Linked DNA regions of Homo sapiens: region 1 is linked to region 2. Evidence: promoter capture Hi-C in 16 types of primary human blood cells and fetal thymus (Javierre and others, 2016). All regions are on one chromosome and are shown on one strand. Each heading gives the region's core, a stretch centred on a gene start or on the middle of the fragment in contact. The rest is flanking DNA. Distances are from core to core; before and after follow the strand shown. Region 1 has its middle 39 kb from the start of CBX4. Region 2 holds the start of CBX2 (chromobox 2).

What was found. The method cuts DNA at HindIII sites, captures the fragments that hold promoters and counts their contacts. A CHiCAGO score of 5 or more calls a contact.
Region 1: a contact is called between a fragment that was not itself captured here and the fragment with the promoter of CBX2 in region 2, in 1 of 17 cell types (monocytes). The highest score is 5.7, in monocytes.

The regions. Positions count from the first base shown.
Region 1 is chr17:79,875,098-79,881,935 of GRCh38, forward strand. No RefSeq gene overlaps it. Among named protein-coding and RNA genes, the nearest start is that of CBX4, 39 kb to the left of the region's middle. The HindIII fragment of the contact is 5,659 bases long and covers 1-4,207 here.
Region 2 is chr17:79,773,874-79,780,811 of GRCh38, forward strand. CBX2 (chromobox 2) reads left to right here and starts at 4,275. Exons shown (of 5, transcript NM_005189.3): 1 at 4,275-4,434; 2 at 4,511-4,554; 3 at 5,489-5,554. The coding sequence starts at 4,363. RefSeq lists silencers at 4,080-4,459, 4,470-4,539 and an enhancer at 4,935-5,528. The HindIII fragment of the contact is 13,003 bases long and covers 1,028-6,938 here.

The DNA.
Region 1 (6,838 bases), core at 128-2,627, 98 kb after region 2:
ATTATTTTTTCCTTCTTAATGCTCCAAGATTCCATTTTATTTTATTTTATTTTATTTATTATTATTTGAAATAGAGTCTCTCTCCGTCGCCCAGGCTGGAGTGCAGTGGCGTGATCTCGGCTCGCTGCAGCCTCCGCCTCCCGGGTTCCAGCACTTCTCCTGACTCAGCCTCCCGAGTAGCTGGCATTACAGGCATGTGCCACCATGCCCGGCTAATTTTTGTATTTTTAGTAGAGACAGGGTTTCACCATGTTGGCCAGGCTGGTCTTGAACTCCTGACCTCAGGTGATCCAGCCACCTCAGCATCCCAAAGTGCTAGGATTACAGGCATGAGCCACCACGCCCAGCCCATTTTATTTTAAAAATCATTTTCTTTCTTTGTGAAAAAACTTCCTTTAGCTGTTCTTTAAGGGCAGGTCTGCTAGCAACAAATTCGTTCAGAAAAAAAATAGATTTTCTATTTTTTCATTTGTTTCAAGAGAACTTGTAATTGCCACTGAAATATTTTTAAGCCGCTTTAAAATCTCAGAATGTCTTTATTTCCCCTTCATTCCTGAAGGATGGTTTTGCCAGACATGATTCGCTGTTGGCAATTCTTTGTTTGCAGCACTTGCAAACACTCACCTTCACCTGGTCTCCGTGGTTTCTGATGAGGAATCTATGGTTTGAGTGGGTGTTCCCCTACAGGGAATGTATCATTTTGTTCTGGCAGCTTTCAACATATTTTTTTTCTTTAGTTTTCAGAAGTTTAATTATCAGGTGTCTCAGCATGGATTTCTTTGGGTAACTATCTGGGACTTGCTCAGCTTCTTGAATGTGTAGATTTGTCATTTGGCAAATTTCAGAAGTTTTAAGCCACTCGTTCTTTTAATACTCTTTCAGCCTCATTTTTTTTTTTTTTTTTTTTTTTTTTTTGAGTCAGATTCTCGCTCTGTCGCCCATGCTGGAGTGCAGTGGCGCCATCTCAGCTCACTGCAAGCTCTGCCTCCTGGTTTCAAGTGATTCTGCTGCCTTAGCGTCCGAGTAGCTGGGATTACAGGCACATGCCACCTCGCCTGGCTAATTTTTGTATTTTTAGTAGAGACGGGGTTTCATCATGTTGGCCAGGCTGGTTTAGAACTCCTGACCTCAGGTGATCCACCCGCCTCAGCCTCCCAAAGTGCTGGGATTACAGGCGTGAGCCACCACACCAGGCCTCAGCCTCTTTCTTTTTCTCCCCTATTTCTGGGTAACTCCAATAATATGTATGTTGGATCTTTTGTTCTATCGTTCCACAGATGCCTGAGGTACTGTTCTTTTTCTCCCCACACCAGTATACTTTCTGTTGTTCAGTTTGGGTAAATTCTATCCATCTGTTCTGAAGTTCGCTAATTCTGTCCTCTATGATCCCATTCTACCATGGAGACTGTTCATTTCTGTTATTGTATTTTTCAGTGCTGTAATTTATATCCTGTTCTTGCTGATAACTATTTGCTGAGATTTTCTATTTTTTCATGTTTCAAGATAACTTAGAATTGCTTGCTAAAGCATTTTTATGCTGCTCTGAAGTCCTGGCCAGATTTTTCCTACATCTGATTTATCCCGGTGTTGGCATTGGTTGGTTGTCTTTTCTCATTCAACCTGTGGCCTTTTCAGGCCTTGGTATGATGGGCGAGTTTTTTTTTTTATTGTGTCCTGGACATTTAAGCTGTTACATTAGGAGGCTCTGGGCTCTCGTCAAATCTTTTGGCCAGCGCGGTGGCTCACACTTGTAATCTGAGCACTTTGGGAGGCTGAGGCAGAAGGATTGCTTGAGCCCAGGAGTTCAAGACTAGTCTGAGCAACATAGTGAGACTCCCGTCTCTACAAAAAATTTAAAAAATTAGCCAGGCGTGGTGGCATATATCTGTAGTCCCAGCTACTCAGGAGGCTGAGCTGGGAGGATCACTTGAGCCTGGGAGGTCGAGGCTGTAGTGAGCTGTGATCGTGCCACTGCACTCCAGCTTGGGCCACAGAGTGAGACCCTGTCTCTAAAATAATAATAATAAATAAAATAAAATAAAATAAATCTTTTATTTTAGTAGGCAGCCACTCTGCTTAGGTTTAGCATGCCGGTCCTGCCCTACTGTTACTGGCTGTGGTTTCCATGACAACCTAATTAGCAGAACCTTTTTGGTGTTAGTTTGGTCGGCGTGGTTAATCTGGTGCCATCGGGGCTGCTACTGGTTCCTGCTGGTTCTTCTTAAGGTGGCAGAAGGAGTGTCTGTGGGTGCTTCTAGGTGGGTGAAGGGAGCCGCAGCCCACAGGGACAAAGAAGACAAAGGTTCCTCCTGCAGGTGACCCCTGCCCCTGGCATCTCTTGGTGGGGGAGGGGAGGTTTCTCTGGCCAAGTCTCAGTAGCGGGGTGATGGGGCCCCTGCTTGTTCCTTTGCTGGTGCCACTAGCTTACCACATGTTGTGGACGGGACTCCTGTTTAATCTGGGGACACAGAGGACCCTATCTGGCTTGTCTGTTTTTGCTGGGCCTGGGTTCCCTTCCTCCACGAGGTGGAGGGCCGTGGCGCTCTGCCTCACTGGGGCTCCTCCAGTCCGGGGGCTCTCACCTGTCGACTGTCTTCCATCCACCTCTGCGTTCTCCTTGGGTTGTCTCTTGTGTTATTTCCAGGGCTTATGGTTGTACTTTGAGAGGGGAGGAGCAGGAAGAAATGAGCCTAGATCATCTTGTCTGGAATGCAGGTTCTGTTTTATTTTTTAAGAGGGGCCATATGGAAGTAAGTTTGGAAGCCAGTGGGAAGGACCTGGTGGAAGGAAGGCTGAAGATGCAGCCAGAGAAGAGAAACTGAGGACATAATGCTCTCCCGGGGCCAGGGCTGGGCTCATTGCTCCATCACCAGCACCTCCTACAGTGCCTATGGGAGCTGCATACGTGGTTCCGGAGTGGAATTGACCCTGAGCTTGCGGGTAGAGGTTCCTCCTGTGAGGGCATAAGAGGGAAGGAGAGTGGGTTTGATGATGGTCCGGGGGGAGGAGGATGGGGAAGGTCTCCTGATGGCTGACACATCCTGATGCTGACAAAGCCATGAAAAGTGAGGGGTGCTGGGCCTGGGGAACTCTGTGAACACAGGGGTTAAATGACAGAGTGAATCCAGGCACAGAATGGTGCCCATACCCACCCCAACGTCATTGCCTGGGAGCTGACATCACCTGCACCTGCCAGGCTGACACCAGCGCTCCCCAGCCCCAGGGCCTCCTGTAATCAAGGCCTTAGGAGTGGAGCCTCAGAAGCAGGAGGAGAAATCAATTCTCTTCCACGCGCCAAAAGCTGCTCATTCAAAACACCCCAAAGACACATCAGGTGGGAGGCACCTGCACTGAGGCTCCTGGAAGCTACTGCAGCAGGACGTGGGAGCAAGGCCCGGCTCCATTTGTCCCCTGCTGGTACAGCCATTTCATGGGTGGGGAGGGTGGAGACCAGGTGTGCTGGCCAGGGATTCCAGGGCGTGGGGTGCAGGGTCCCCTGCGTTTCCTCATATGGATGTCAGAAGTGGAAGAGAACGTCATAGCAGGCCAAGTGGGGTCCAACCCTTTCCAAGGTCTGGATCAGCTGTGCTGTGCACCCACAGCCCTCTGCCTGCCCTCTGCTCCACACCTACCCCTCCAGGCCCTGATTTTCCCGCTGGACTGTGCCCGGGAACATGTCGTTCTCTCTATTGTATGGGTGTGTGTGTGAGAGAAAGATGCACATATTTGGGTATATACATGATGTGTGAGGCATGTATATGTGTGTATCATGTTTAATTTTCTCAATATTCAAAAAGCCCACAAATTTGATAAGAAACAGATAAACAACTCAACAGAAAAATAGGCATAAATATAAACAAGTAATTCATAGAAAAGGAAATTCACATAGTCAATTGCACTTAAAATATATGCAAACCCTAGTAAAATATGACATTATTTAAAGATACAGATACGATGACCAACATTGGTTCTAGTGAGCAAACATGAAGCAATGTTTAGCCTCATCAAAAGGAAAATGCAAATTAAGGCCATGAAGTGATACATTGTTCGCCCTTTAGGTTGCTAAAATTTAATAAAAGCTCTAAGATTCACTGAGGCAAAAAACCTGGGGGAAATAGACATGGACATGCTTGGTGGAAATGTGAATGCAATTACTTCCTGGGAAAGTACTCTGGCAATATCTACTAAAATGAAAATAATACACATAAGCTTTGACCCAGTGATTCCACTCTGGGGAACCTCTTCTTTAGAAACAAAAACAACGGGGTATGAAAATAGATGTAAAAGAATTGCTTTTCCAGCTGGGTGCGGTGGCTCATGCCTGTAATTCCAGCATTTTGGGAGGCTGAGGCAGGTGGATCACCTGAGGTCAGGAGTTCGAGACCAGCTAGGCCAACATGGTGAAACCCTGTTTCTACTAAAAATACAAAATTAGCTGGGCATGGTGTCACACACCTGTAATCCCAGCTACTCAGGAGGCTGAGGCAGGAGAATCACTTGAGCCCAGGAGGCGGAGGTTACAGTGAGCTGATATGGCCCCACTGCACTCCAGCCTGGTCAACAGAGTGAGACTCCACCTCAAAAAAAAAAAAAAAAAAAAGAATGCTTTTTCGGCACTGTCTATGGTGGTGAAACCAAAGCAAAACAAAAAAAATAAAGAAATTGGAAGTAATTTGTGAATGCACATCTTTATAAGTATATAATTGTAGCATATTTAGGGCAGCCACAGTGGTTGACACCTGTAATCCCAGCACTTTGGGAGGCCAAGGCAGAATGATTACTTGAGCCCAGGAGTTCAAGACAAGCTTGGGCAACATAATGCGATCCCATCTCTATAAATAATTTTAAAAATTAGCCAGCCATTGGCCAGGCATGGTGGCTCATGTCTGTAATCCCAGCAGTTTGGGAGGGCAAGGCAGGTGGATCACCTGAGGCCAGGAGTTCGAGACTAGCCTGGCCAACATGGTGAAACCCCTTCTCCACTAAAAATACAAAAATCAGCTGGTTGTGGTTTAGGATACAGGCCCGTGCCTGTAATCCTAGCTACTCGGGAGACTGAGGCAGGAGAATCGCTTGAACTAGGGAAGTGGAGGTTGAGCCAAGATTGTGCCACTGCACTCCAGCCTGGGTGATAGAGCAAGACTTTTTCTAAAAAAAGAAACCAAAAACATTAGCCAGGCATGGTGGCATATGCCTGTGATCCCAGCTACTAGGGAGGCTAAGGCAGGAGGATTGCCTGAGCCTGGTAGGTTGAGGATGCAGTGAGCTGTGATAGCACTGCTGCGCTCTAGCCTGGGCGACAGAGCAAAATGCTCTCAACTGCCCGCAGCCCCCGTTCCCCGACACACACAAATTGTAGCAAATTTACACATGGCAGCCTTGAAATGGAATGAGTTAAATCTAGGCCAATTACCATGAAAGGGGATGTCCATCAAATATTTGATAAAGAGGGGGGAATACCAAATAGACACTGTATGTTATGATCTCCATTTTTTAATATGAAGCAAGAAATAATCCTGCTACCCTCCACCAGTGGGGTATGAATAGGAGGAATCCATGGACCAGTCCCAAACTGGCTGCTGACCCTGAATGCCTTGGAGAAGTGAGATTGGAGGGAAGGTGGGAAAATGGTGAACTTTTCTTTGTTTATCTTTGCATGGTTTCACTTGCCAAAGCCGGGAGGTGTTACTTTTTTTTTTTTTTTTTTTTTTTTTTGAGATGGAGTCTCTCTCTCTCTGTCACCCAGGCTGGAGTGCAGTGGTGCGATCTTGGCTCACTGCAACCTACGCCTCCCAGGTTCAAGCGATTCTTCTGCCTCAGCTTACTGAGTAGCTGGGACTACAGGCATATGCCACCATGTCCAGCTAATTTTTGTATTTTTAGTAGAGACGGGGTTTCACCATGTTGGCCAGGATGGTCTCAATCTCTCGACCTTGTGATCCGCCTGCCTCAGCCTCCCAAAGTGCTGGGATTACAGGTGTGAGCCACCACGCCCGGCCAGTGAGCCACCACACCCAGCTGAGGTGTTACTTTTTAAAAATAGCTCTACTGATGTATAATTTTTTTTTTTTGAGATGGAGTCTCGAGCTCTGTTGCCCAGGCTGGAGTGCAGTGGCATGATCTAGACTCCCTGCAACCTCCGCCTCCCAGGTTCAAGCGATTCTTGTGCCTCAGCCTCACTAGTAGCTGAGATTACAGGCTAGTAGAGATGGGGTTTCACCATGTTGGCCAGGCTGGTCTCGAACTCCTGAACTCAGGTGATCTGCCTCGACCTCCCAAAGTGCTGGGATTACAGGTGTGAGCCACCACACCAGGCCATGATGTATAATTGAGATAACAAAAACTCACAAATTTAAAAGGTATACTTTGATAAGTTTTGACATGCATACACCCATAAAACTATTACCCCAATCAGATAGTAAACCCGTCCATCGCTCCCCACATTTCTTCTCCCTCCATCCCTCCCTGCTTCCCTGCTCCCCAGTCCTGACCTCTGGCAACCACACTCTGCTTCCCGTCAGCATAGATTCTTTACATTTTGCAGAGTTTTGTATAAATGGAATCAACAGTATGGACTCTTTTTCATCTGGCCTCTTTCACTTGGATAATTATACTGAGATTCATTCATGCTGTTGGCTTTATGAATAGATCATTTATTTTTATTGTACAGTAGTGTTCAATTGTATGCAAATAACACAGTTTGTTAATCCATTTACCTGTTGATAAGTTGTTTCCAGTCTTCAGCTATTACAAATAAAGCTGCTATGAATATTTGTGTACCAGTCTTTGTATGGACTTTCATTTCTTACATTCAGGCATTCATACATTTCATATCCTA
Region 2 (6,938 bases), core at 3,025-5,524:
CCTGTTATTTTTTAAATTGTGAAAATACTGCATTTCACACTGGAAAATTACGCTCATAAAACCGTTTTGCACTGTAAAAATTCTGCACCCGGGAAAGGTCCTGGAAAAAGCCGAGGTGGCATGCGCGCGGAACTGCCGGACCAGCTGAGCATCAGGTTGCTCAGACATCACTGGATCACTTGCACTTACTAGAGTTACTGAGAAGTGGGGACAGAGGCAACCCCATCTACCCGGGCTGTGACTGTGAATTGGTGCAGACCCTCGGAGGGCAGTTTGACAATAGCTAACTCAGAAAGGTAGAGCCATGTATCTTCTTTTGTTCCTTTCTCCCATAGAGAAGACATACCCTTTTAAGACAGCTCTGTGCATGCTATTCTGTAGATACGCTGGTACTTTGCACATGGGAAGACAAAGATGGTCATTGCTGCACTGTTTTAATAGTAAGAAACTGGAATCAGGGACCGATCTGATTGCAAAATTAATAAATGACACTCTTTAAAATAAAAGCTTCATGTAATGGAGACCTCCTGCAAGGGGACTGTCATCATAAATGAGCTCATTGTCCATTTCCCACCTCCTATAACTGTGTTCCTTAACCACCCCCTGCCTCCAGGATCGGGGCGGGGAAGGGGGGTGCCTCCAGCCTGAGCCTGTCTTTAGGTGTGCTGCAATGAGCTAGGTGGCCTGGTGGGTGAGGGTGAGTGGAGTCCGAGAAACATACGGGGTTGCTCCAGCCTTTGACCTTGGAAGGCCTCCTGAGAGCAGGCTCTCCACCACTTCCAGAACAGCCTGCCCATTTGCCCCTCCCAGGCCAACATGGGAAACAGCAGGCCCAGGCTCCACGGTCCTGTACCTGATACAGTTTGTATTCTCCTGCCTCATGTGCACAGCGAGGGATTGGGCAGGCTGCCCTTTGTAAGAAGTGTTCTAAACGCTGAGAGCCCTGGGCTGCCTCTGGCTTGTCCTGGGTCAGAATCCAGGGGCGGACATGTGCATCGTGTGCCCAGGGGTCCTTAGGCAAACTGAAAGCTTGAGGGATCCTGCAAGTGCCTGAACTGTGCTTATTTTTACTTGAGTTCTGATACACAAACACGGTCTGTCCCGCATATGTAATATTCACATATTACATACACAGAAACGGCGTGACATTAACACAGCTAGCCTGTAAGTCACACCTTAGTCTTGCAAATGTGCAGAGGAGCTGGGGGCAAATTACGACATGAGATATTAAATGTGATGTAAATGTGTGATGTATTCTAAATCCTGAGTGTATCCCATGCAGACCGGCTGGTGGTGGTGTCTGGTTCCTCCTTTTAGCCAACACCGCTGATGGCAGTAGGGAGACAGTGCTTTTAGAAAATCTAAGAGCTGTTTGAAAGTATTTGGTTAAGAAGTAACTACTGTTACCTAGTTACAGCTGCCAAATCCAGGGTCACTGGATTGATCTCAATTCCTGACTTTTCCATTGACTTCAGAGTGAGACATTCTTTGCTTTGGCATCTGTAATTTTCGATCCACAAGCATAGCGTGAAAATACTTATGCTTTCTTAGTAGCATTTCAGACACGAATAAGTTAATACTTGTCCTTATCACTTGCGTAGAAAGGAAATCAGTACTATACAAAGTCTGTACTCCCTGAATGTCTTCCTCTGTGCCTGGATTTTTAATATCTTTTTTGTATGTGTTTTAAACATTCTTGTATATAATTAAGCATAACTGTGAGTGTAGGTAAACTATTCATATTCCAGGATTAATTTATGTAACCGTATTACTTTCATTTAAAATATGTTTAAAGCAGATCCCTCTCATTCCTGTGGACCTGCAAAGTGTCCAGTACAGTGACCACCAGCTACATGTGGCTACTCCCACTGAAATGAATTAAAGTGAAATACAATTTAAAATTCGAGCCTTCAGTGGCACTAGCCACACTGCCAGTGCTCAGCAGTCCCAGGTGCCTAACGGCCACCACACTGGACGCAGTGGAGGGAGGCTCTGTCCATCCACTTCCATCACCCACAGATGGAGCTGCTGCTACGGTCTTATACTACTGGATATCTAGTAGTGCCCACATGATAGTACATACTAACTATCTGTCGAATGAATAATACAATAATTAGTTTTAACTTGTCTTAATAATTCTTAAAATGTGACAGTCAAAACGGAAGACGTCCGCTTGTTTTACACAGTTGGATTAGCTGGGGGTTATTCTTCCCTTCTGCCTATTCCCAGCTTTGTTTTTAGGGAACGTGCCACAGATTTTGGATCACACGTTCACAGAATGTATCTGATTATTTCATTCTGGCCAAATCTGTCATATTTGTTTCTCCAAATGAATTATCTAAATATTATTTTACCCAAACTGTTTGCAGTTGGGTAGATGATGTACATGTTAAACCTTCCTGGACGCTGATTTATTTTTTTCAATGTGTTAGTATCAAATTCTAGCAAATTTATTTCTTAAGCAAAGAAATCATTCCCTTTTCAAAGCCTTCTTTTCTTTAAAAAGAAATCAAGCAAGTATCCCAGCATACCATGAGTCAAAGAGGAAACTGGAAACTTCCAGGGCAAAATCTTAGACCCAAGATGAATTCTGCAAGGAAACGTGATGTGAAACTGATCCAGCTATTTGTAGGATTACAATAAATACACCTTTGCCCTCAACTCCACAATTTACTGCCAAGCTGCACAAGACAGGGATACAAAAGGAGCCGGCGGAGACACTGTTAGCGGATCCCTTCACTCCAGAGGCCAGTTTTATCCCAACACAAGGATTCTTTACTGCCTCTGCCCCTGAGTAAACAAACACCTTCCCCCCAAGGACATTTCCCTTTCTCCTGCCCTCTTTGCAAACAACATCTGAATTTGCACGTACTCTCCAGGAAATCAAATGAATGTAACCTATCTAACCAAAGAAACTGAAGAACACGCCATAAATTGAAAGATCGGTTCCTACAGTTCAGTATTTTCTCCAGTAGGCCTTTCTGTAAAAACAAAAAAACACATTTCTCCTGCAGAACCCTTTATAAATATGGTTTTGATGATCACAATTACATTGAGACAGTCTCCTACAACAAGAAACGACTTTTGGATCTGCTCAACAGAAAGAGAATTTTGCAGCTGTGTTCAAGGAAGCAAGAAAAGCAGAGAGTGAATTTTCATGGAGTTAGACTGCGTTGAGACGAATGAAGCTAAGGCTCAGGTCTCTTTCATTACGTGTTTGACTTGTCCTGATTCAAAATCTAAATAACTTAAAGGGTGATTCTTCATGGAATTCGAATCTTAACACCGGAATAAAAGGGTAGCCTGCTGACGACGATCACAGGGAGGACAAGGGGTCACCCCCACTTTCATAACATGGCCTGACCCTTTTCTGCCGCGGACAATTGATCCGAAGGACGCCGGCTGCCCAGCCCTGGCGGGCCACTACTGACCTAGTCCGAAGTTAGGAACAGCCTTGCAAACCGCCCCCTCCCCCTCCATTTCATCAAAATCGGGGAACAAATTCAGAAAAGGTGCAGCTGGTTTTCTCCCTACACGTGCCCTAAAACTCGGGGGCTGGATCCACTTTTCATAGCTGTTTAATAAGAACTCCGGGCAGTTCGTATTACTTCTTTCTCAGAGTGCTTGGTGGTTTAAGTTAAAGCATTTTCCTCTCTCGCCTTTGGGGGAAAAAGCCTCGGCTGCTGGGGTTTGTGGGCCCCTCCCCCGGACTTCGTCTTCCTTTCCTTCCCCAGCCCCCGACCCGTTTTGCTCTCGTCCAAAACAGAGCGACTCCCCCGCTGCCGAGGAAAAGCCAGTTCAAGAAGCCGGGGGAAGGGTGGGGCCCCGCGTGCCCCGGAGCAGCGCCCCTCGAAGGCGGGGGCAGGAAGCAGCCGCCGCGCCCCGTCCCGCTTCCCTCCCTTCGGGCCAGAACAATGGCTTTTTGCCCGGAAAACGGAGTTGGGAGCAAGGGCGGGCGCGCCCCGGGAATCACGCGGGACTCGGTGGGCGCCCCAGGCCCGAAGTCCCTAGGCACCTCCTCCCCCAGCCAGGGGCCCGCCCGCGCCCCCACCCCCGCCCCCGCCCCCGCCCGGGGCCCCGCGCGGGACCCCCCGCCGGAGCGCGAGGCCCAGCCCGCCGCGGACAATGCGCGCCCCGCCCCGCCCCGCACCCGCCCCCCCTCGCTGATTGGCCCGCACGGGATTTGGGCAGCGCGCGGGGGCGGGCGGCGGGCCGGGGCGCGGGCGCGGAGCGGCGGTGCGCGTGCGCGGGGCGGGCCGGCGCCGGGCGGGGGCGGTGCTTTGTGTGCTGCCGGCGGGGCGCGCGGCGGTCCGGGCGGGTGACTGGCGGCGGGCGCCGCGGTCGGGCTGGCTGCCGGGCAGCATGGAGGAGCTGAGCAGCGTGGGCGAGCAGGTCTTCGCCGCCGAGTGCATCCTGAGCAAGCGGCTCCGCAAGGTGCGTGCGGCCCGCCGGGCCCCCCGCCCGCCGCCCGCTGTCCGTCTGGCTCACGGCCCCTCTTCTCTCCCCGCAGGGCAAGCTGGAGTACCTGGTCAAGTGGCGCGGCTGGTCCTCCAAGTGAGTCCCCCGCGACGCCGCGCCCCCCTCCCGCCCCCTCGCCCGGGGGTGGGGACGTGGAGCCCCTCGGCCGCGCCGTCCGGTGGCCTGGGGGCGCCCGCGGGCAGAGCGGGAAGTTCGCGGGGTCCCCGCGGGCTCCTCCGGCTCTGAGGGGGGCGGGGGCCGCCCGGCCCGAGGTTGCCCTTTGTTTACACGCCCGCGGGTGCAGAGCTGGGCGGCCCCCCGCGCCAGAACCTCCTCGGCTGCCGCGCCGCGCTCCCCCCAACCCCCGTCCCGGCCGGGAGGGAGGCGCGGGATGCAAGCCCCCCTCCTCTTGGCCAGATTCTCCCCGCTGTAACCTGAGCTTGCTATTGATGGATGTAGAGTTTCTTTTTTTTTTTCTTTCTTTTAATGGAAGGGAGGGTGTTTGGCATCCCCGGAAGGGGCTCTCTGCACAGCTGCTCCCGCGGCCCCGTTTCTGCGTCTTCCCGGACCCCGCTCTTTCTTCGCTACCCCTCGAGGTGCCCCGGCCCGCGCGCCACATTGTTCTGGATCTCGGGCTGGGCGCCTGTGCCCCTCCCTGCATGCTGGACCTGCCTTCCCTTCCTCCTCTGGCTCCGGGCCAGGGTTTGGGGGAATCCCTCTCTGCAACTTTGCGTTTTATGGGGGTTTGTTTTTCTCCCAGGCAGAGACTGTGGGAGTCCTCTTGTGGCCTTGTTTTAATTGGGGGGTTGGAGCGGCAGTTTCCCTTTGGGTCTGAGGTTAGAGTGCTGGCTTGGTGGGGGGTGGCCAGCCTCCAAAACCTGGGTTTGGACTTTGAGAAGTGCCATGGTGCTACGGTGCCACTGCCATCGGCCCAAGTCGAGGAGCGGTGAGGGCGAGCCCCCTCGGGCTGCCTTGCAAAGCGGTGATCATCAGCCTGGCGTCTAATGCTGCCCTGTCCTCTGCTTTGCAGACATAACAGCTGGGAGCCGGAGGAGAACATCCTGGACCCGAGGCTGCTCCTGGCCTTCCAGAAGAAGTGAGGACGCTGACAGCACTGGGGAGGGTGTGGGGGAGGGACGGTGGCTGGTTGGAGTCGTGCTGGGCGCTGCTCGCCTGCCGGGAGGCTGGAGCTGGGGCTGTGGTCTGAGGTCCCTTAGCAAGATTGTGTCCAGGGCCATCTCTGTGGCTGGCTGTAAAAGTCCCCAGCCAGCCCCTCTCCCACCTTCTCCTAGCCAGCCTGTATCCATCCCTGAGAAGAACCTAAGTAAGTGCTGCTTTGGTGTTTCCGACAGCCATACTTGCAAAAACCAACTTTTTCAGTTGCTTCAGATAAAGATGTTATAGCTTCTCTTGGCCTTTTCTGCTGAGTAATTTGCACATGGCGCTAACAGAAAACCAGGAGAGCAGGTTTGCCACAGTGACGCAGGTCTGCCCTTCCAGCCCTGCACGCGTGTGCCATCAGGCAAGAAGGCTCAGAGAGGGAGCTGGAACACACAGCACGCAGTTGTGCCTATTGTGATGTCTCTCTCAAGAAAGAAACATTTATTTTGCTCTGGCCTGCAGCATACAGTACCAAGTAGCACCATGAGGCCGGATTGGGCCAGACTTGTTTCTGTAATTCTAGATGTCATTTCTATTTTTAGGTAGGAAGTTTAGGTTAAGAGATAGGCCTCCTTGAGATGTTCAAGGGCAAGGGGTGGTGAGGAGAGGGCAGTGGATGTGCCCACCTGGCATGAAGGGCCAGGGAGTACTGTTCAAGCAATGGCAAGATGGGGGGTGGTTTCACTGACGGCTCCCCCTGGATCCCCTGGCTGGACTTGCCCTGTGGATAGAGGCAGAAGAATTGGTTGCTGGAGTCTTTCCCAGCCAGGGTCAATCTGGACGGTTTGTTCTCTGGTAGCAAAAGGTGCATTCCCTTTTTTCCACTGTAGCGGGACATATTGGGTCTTCCCAGAGGGGTCATGATAATGGGGAAATAGAGTTTTCTGGTGGGGCGAGCAAAAAGAAGAGCCTGTGCTTGCTTAAATCCCTTTGGAAAATCGTAACAGCAACCCATCGTCTTCTGTTAGTTCCTGTCTGGGTGCTGTGAGCCTTGGGGTGGGGGAATGGCTTGGCCCACTTCAGAGGCTGGTGCGCTTCTCTGGATCTAAGACGGTGTCCTAACTGTTGAGAGAGATTGTGGTTTTGGTTAGAGCAGAAACACCTGAGATAAGAAGAGTGTAAAACCCATGGGTGGCTTGGATGACATCGTGGAAGAAAGAAAACAGAGAAGGTGGGACAGCCTTCTCCATCCACCAAAATGTTAGCTCTCTCTGGGCACTAGGAGCTGGCGGTTACCTGCTTGGTATTGGAGGGGGTGGGGGTATGGCCCTTGGCGACGCACAGGATCACAGCAGTCAGTGCACAGGTTAATATTTCAG